2 separate regions of the Homo sapiens genome follow, and region 1 is linked to region 2. The links are contacts of gene promoters, found by promoter capture Hi-C in human tissues and cell types (Jung and others, 2019). All regions are on one chromosome and are shown on one strand. The core of a region is centred on a gene start or on the middle of the fragment in contact, and the rest is flanking DNA. Distances in the headings are between cores, read along the strand shown.

The links. Contacts are between HindIII fragments. The study calls those that stand out against the background at their distance.
Region 1: a contact is called between the fragment with the promoter of DENND4A here and the fragment with the promoter of SPG21 in region 2, in 1 of the 25 tissues and cell types used here (hippocampus).

The regions. Positions count from the first base shown.
Region 1 is chr15:65,790,928-65,793,627 of GRCh38, reverse strand. It overlaps DENND4A (DENN domain containing 4A), which reads left to right and starts at 1,335. Exons shown (of 33, transcript NM_001320835.1): 1 at 1,335-1,618. It overlaps LOC105370866 (a long non-coding RNA gene), which reads right to left and starts at 1,155. Exons shown (of 3, transcript XR_932372.2): 1 at 856-1,155. RefSeq lists enhancers at 639-1,258, 482-1,447 and a silencer at 1,449-1,778. The HindIII fragment of the contact is 3,785 bases long and covers 162-2,700 here.
Region 2 is chr15:64,988,499-64,991,198 of GRCh38, reverse strand. SPG21 (SPG21 abhydrolase domain containing, maspardin) reads left to right here and starts at 1,285. Exons shown (of 9, transcript NM_016630.7): 1 at 1,285-1,534. RefSeq lists enhancers at 852-911, 952-1,021, 1,077-1,576, 1,577-2,078 and silencers at 1,092-1,581, 1,702-1,751, 1,554-1,848. The HindIII fragment of the contact is 3,841 bases long and covers 367-2,700 here.

The DNA.
Region 1 (2,700 bases), core at 86-2,585, 800 kb before region 2:
TTGTTTTAAAGCAAAATCTTGCTCTGTCACCCAGGCTGGAGTGCAGTGGCACAATCTCGGCTCACTGCAGCCTCCGGCTCTGGGGCTCAAGCGATCCTCCCACCTCAGCCTCTCAAGTAGCTGGGACCACAGGCGCACGCCACCACGCCCGGCTAATTTTTTGTATTTTTGGTGGAGACAGGGTTCTCGCCATTTTGCCAGGCTAGTCTTGAACTTCTGAGCTCAAGCTGACCCTCTTGCCTCGGCCTCCCTAAGCGTTGGGATTACAGGCATGAGCAAAGGCGCCTGGCCTCAGTTATTTTTCTAACCTTTATAGCATGTTTCCCCTTAAAATGTGCTTAAGTACTTTTTTATTGTCCCTCTTCTCCCACTAAACTGCAGTTTCCTGAAGGCAAAGGTTTTCTGTTTCCCTCACCACTGTGCACCCTCTGTATGGATGTTTGTTGACTGAATGAATGAATACAATGAAAGAACTGGAGGTAGGAAATAAAGTTGTAAACTTGGTTAGTAAAAGGCTATGCAATTTAGGAAAAGTTGACTTTAAAGCAGAGGGATTTTGGGGGTCCTGTTTCTTCTTTCATTTGTCCATGGAATAATGTCTAACATTTATTGAGTACTTTCAAGCACTATACTAAGTACTTCACAGGTACTATAGAATTTAACTCCCGAGCAACCCCATGGGGGTAATCAAGCTTTATTAACCTCATCTGTCAACAGCCATCAATGGTGGAGAGCCACAGTCAGGTTTAAGTAGGCCGTATCCAATTAATCCAAAGTAATCGACACCCCGTCAGTCAACAATAGCTGTTTCATCAACGTACTTTTCGGAGAAACCCCCTGAATTCCCCGCTTTACCTTTCTATCTTGGGACCGAAACCTACTCGGCGGTTGCTAACCCTTAAGGGAGTTTCCTGGAGAATGTGAGCACCCTTGGTGGAGGAGCAGCAGCTGCTCAGATCTAGCAAGTCTGAGACGAACCGAGCAAGGCAATCTCAGGACTCCCAGAGTGCCGGGGAGGAAGGAAGAAACAGGTCAGTTGGCGCGAACTGGATTCTTGTGCCTCTGGGTGACGAAAGGTGAAGGGATTGTACGCTTCGCCCACGCCAGCCTGGGGCTCGGGATCTCCTGACCCGACGGGGAACCACGGTGCGTTTCCCCAACTACACCGCACGTCACGGACTAAGGCGACTTAGTCCCGCCCACCTTCACCGCCCCATTATCAGTTTGGCGCTAGGACCCCACGACCCTCAACTCGGCCCTCTCCTCCCACTCGGGCCAGATCCGGCCTTCGATTGGTGCTCGCGGGCGTGATTCCCGCCCCCGCCCCTTCCGTCATTGCCAAGATGGCGCCGGTCGCGGTGGCCGCGGAGGCTAGAGTCGGAGAAAGAGGCGGAGGCAGTGGCGGCCGCGAGGGGAGGGGGAGTCCCGTCTGACTGAGACGGCAGGCCTGGGCGGGCGGGCGGGGGTGCCGCGAAGGGCGGAGCGCCGGGCTGGGGATGAGCTAAGCGGGCTCAGAGCGCCGCGGCATTCAGCCCCTCGTGTTCCGCTACCGCGCGTGCGGGATTCCGGCGCCGCTCTCCGAGCTCGATCCGCTGCTCGCACGGGAGCCAGCTGGGTGGTGAGTGCGGGGGCGGCGACCCGGGCAGCGGTGGCAGGTGGAGCTGTCACGGCCCGGAGAGGTGACAGCCGGGGGCGCGGGAGCGGGGCGGGTGGGTTCGGGGAGGAGGCACGGATGGCCGAGATCTCCGCCCGAGAGCTCCTGAGATCCGGGAGGTGCTCCGCGGCTCGGTCCGCCCCGGGATGGCGCGGCGGTGCTGAGAGTAGCACCCGCGCCTCTGCGTCGGACGCGTGGGGGGCTCCTGTGTTTTCATTCCAGATTTTCTATTCCAGGCTGGCCTGGGGCTGTTGTTATTTGGGAGTGGGGGCGGGGAGGGGGAGGTCCTGGATCTGGGATTTTGACAAGCCCGTTACGTAAGTCGGAGGTGGCTTCCCGGAATCCCACCTGCTCGGTATCTGAGACAGGCGGCGGGGGGAGCCCGGGGTGCCTGCAGGCCCACTTTTCCTCCCAGGGTCTGTTCAGCCTTCCCCGGCCCGCGGGCACGGGTTCTGCGTGAGCGCGGCCAGCGTCCAAGTTGACCAGTTTTTTTTCTAGTCTTTTTGGGGGGGTGTGTGGTGGGGGAAGGGAACTGTTCCTGGTTACCACCATTCCCTTTGAAGTTTATTGTTTTCTGGAGGTGGGGGGCAGGAAAAACAGTAAAAAGCTTGTGACCTAAAATTGGGTCGCAGCGACAGCTTTTCATTATCGTGCTTTTAAATGACAGATGTGCTGGAAGATTGTTGTTGTTGTTCCAATGTGCTTTTAATTCAAACGTATGGTTACGCCTAGAACCGTAGAGAGAGGTTTTTGTCTTATAGGACAGTTATTTCTTGTTTGCAACAGCAGGACAGGCATCAGTCAACAGGCATGTATTTATTTGAGGAGAAAACGCGTGTCAGCCAGCTAGAGACCCGTGAGGGCAGAAATTGTATTACTCTGTGAATATGTTATTCTTTAAAATGTATTATACGTTAATGAAAAGAATAGCCCGAATGTAAAAGAAGTCTTAGAAGATTACAAGCTGTTATTTGGTGTGTATATAGTCTCCTTCTATTTTCTGTTTACCCTAGTATACCTCTTCTCTCCTTGGGGGAGGAGGTGGA
Region 2 (2,700 bases), core at 36-2,535:
CAATCAAGCGATCCGTCCACCTTGGCCTCCCAAAGTGCTGGGATTACAATCAATATACATTTAGTACCTATTATTTATGGGCTAATCATGTGCTAATGGACTGGTGGAATCACTCTATTCCCTTTGCTCTAGATTGAAGCTTCGAGACCACCTGGGAAAATAGACAACTAATGTAATGAATATCCATAACCAGTTTCAGAGACAACCAGTAGTTTGCAAGTTATTCCACCCATTAAACGATTCCAAATGTTGGAGAAAAGGCCCCCAACTTAAAATACTCCACGGAAACGTGCTCTATACATCTATGTGGTGCTTACAATAAAAGATGAATTCCTGCGACTGAGTTGCAACCCCGAAAGAAATGATTTAGAGAAAAAAAGAAAGAAAGAAAAAGGTAAGTATGTCACCGTGCTTTTGGAAAATGCTTTTGGGATTTGTCCAAGTTCTAGAGTGGAACCCAAGGCTCCTGGGCCAGGGGACAGAAGTGATAACTAAGTAGGATGCAATTTAGTTGGAATCTTCCCTGACCTTAATCCCATAAACAGTTGCCTAGGTAAAGGCAAAGTCTACAGGCCCTAAAACAGGGTACAAGCTTTCCCTAAAACATATTAGAGAGAGGCACTTTCAACAGGACCTTGTTGCAGGATCCCTAAAAAAAAAATTCAAAACAAGGAGATTTACATGTTATTCACCTTATCATAATTTCAGAAATATTTTACTAATAAAAAAGGAGTCGTGAAGTCTGGAACACCTTAAGACGTGACGTCTGCAACACCTTAAGAACAATGATTACAAATGTATTAATATTCTCTCTGATTTTAAGGGAAAAGTGATGAAGGAACAGGAAGATGGGTGGGCGTATGTTCCCAGAAATCCCCAGAACGTCAAAAAGGAAGCGGAGGCTTTGAGTGGAGGACTACGGAGAGCGTCTACGGTTGTGCCAAAGGAAAAAAAATGTTCCTAAGAAAAGAGTATACAAAGTTGTGTTCATCAAAGTCTGGAACCCAAAGGTGTCCCTCCAAAGCTGTACACGACAGAGAAAACGCGAACTGAAAGAAGAAGCAGGTCCCAAGGGGCCAGGCGCCTCCTCCACCTCCTCCTCCTCCTAGGTACGTAGGGCAGAACTAAGGCTGACCCAGACGTAACTCAGCCCTCTCCTCACGCCAGCCGCAGCCAAGCATCCCACGGAGCCTCCCCCCGCGCCCGTCGCCGTGGCGACCGCCGGGGCCACGCAGCACCGCCCCTTCCTCGCGACGTGGCCCCGCCCTCTGAGAACCCGGAAGCGGGAGTCTCGCGCCAGCTGAGCGGCGGTCGGGCGGGGGGAGCGCGGCGGCCCAAGCTCGCTCGGCCACGCGCCCCGCCCCCTCAGAGGCCGGCCTCCCGCACGCACCGCGCAGCCTGCTGTGCCCGTGGGTCCCGAGTGCTCCGCCGCCCGCCCCGACCCGGGCCCAGCCGCCTCCACGGCCCGCGCTCGTACTGGAGCGAAGAGCGGCCTCCTGAAGGAGGGGAAGGGACGTGGGGGCGGCCACGGCAGGTGAGGGTGGGCGAAGCCCTGGGAAGCGGCTGGGTGTGCGGTATGCGGGGTTGTAGGTGTGTGTGTGTGGCGCGTGGCTGCCTTGGTTGGTGTGACTTTGTGAGTGTGTTCTGAGTGGGCCGGTCCATGTGACCACGCACGTGATCACGTGCCCTTGTGAGTGTGTGTCTGGGGCCGAATCTGGGCTGTGGGGTGGTCGGTGTGCTTGTGACCCTGCCTTTGTGTGGCTGTCACCGGTGGGACTGGCGGGGAGCTGTGTGTGAGTCTCCAGCGGGAGGTGGGGGCGGCACAGGGCTTAACCGGGGCATCCTCCTGTAAACCCATCCTGGGGCTACACGACTGCAGCCCAGGAACATTTCTTTCTTTCTTTCTTTCTTTTTTTTTTTCTCAGCAAACTTTTAAGAACTGTGAGCAGAGGCCAGTAATTTTGGAGACAGGACCTCGGCCTGAAAGTGATAGATGTCTTTGTTGTTACTGAGTGTGGGCCAGGTGTAAGGTTTGTAAACGGGGGATGAGGAACAGAGCGGGACCGGAGTGTCTCATTTTTCCTCTTCTCGTTTTCCTGGGGAGTTATAAGTTAGACATTTATGCTGCTTCCTTTGTCTCCACCTACACTGGTTCAGCTCCTTTTGGCACAAAGATTCAACAAATTAAGGAGTAACTTTTTTTTTTTTTTTTTTTTTGAGACGGAGTCTCGCTCCGTCGCCCAGGCTGGAGTGCAGTGGCGCCATCCCAGCTCACTGCAAGCTCTGTCTGCTGGGTTTACGCCATTCTCCTGCCTCAGCCTCCCGAGTAGCTGGCACTACAGGCTCCCGCCACCACGCCCGGCTAATTTTTTGTATTTTTAGTAGAGACGGGGTTTCACCGTGTTAGCCAGGATGGCCTCGATCTCCTGACCTCGTGATCCGCCCGCCTCGGCCTCCCAAAGGGCTGAGATTACAGGCGTGAGCCATCGCGGCTGGCCACTGAGGAGTAACTTAATAGCTGTGTCCAAATTCCAAAAGCTTTTTTCCCAAGAGCATGAGAAGAGATGTCACAGATGTCAGGTAGGCACCTTTTCCTCCTGTAAGGTTTAGAGATAATGCAATGAAGAAAAGAGGGATAGATCTCCCCTGAAGAGATCTAAGAAAAGGATAGCTGTGTACTTCTGTGGTGAGGGATGGAGA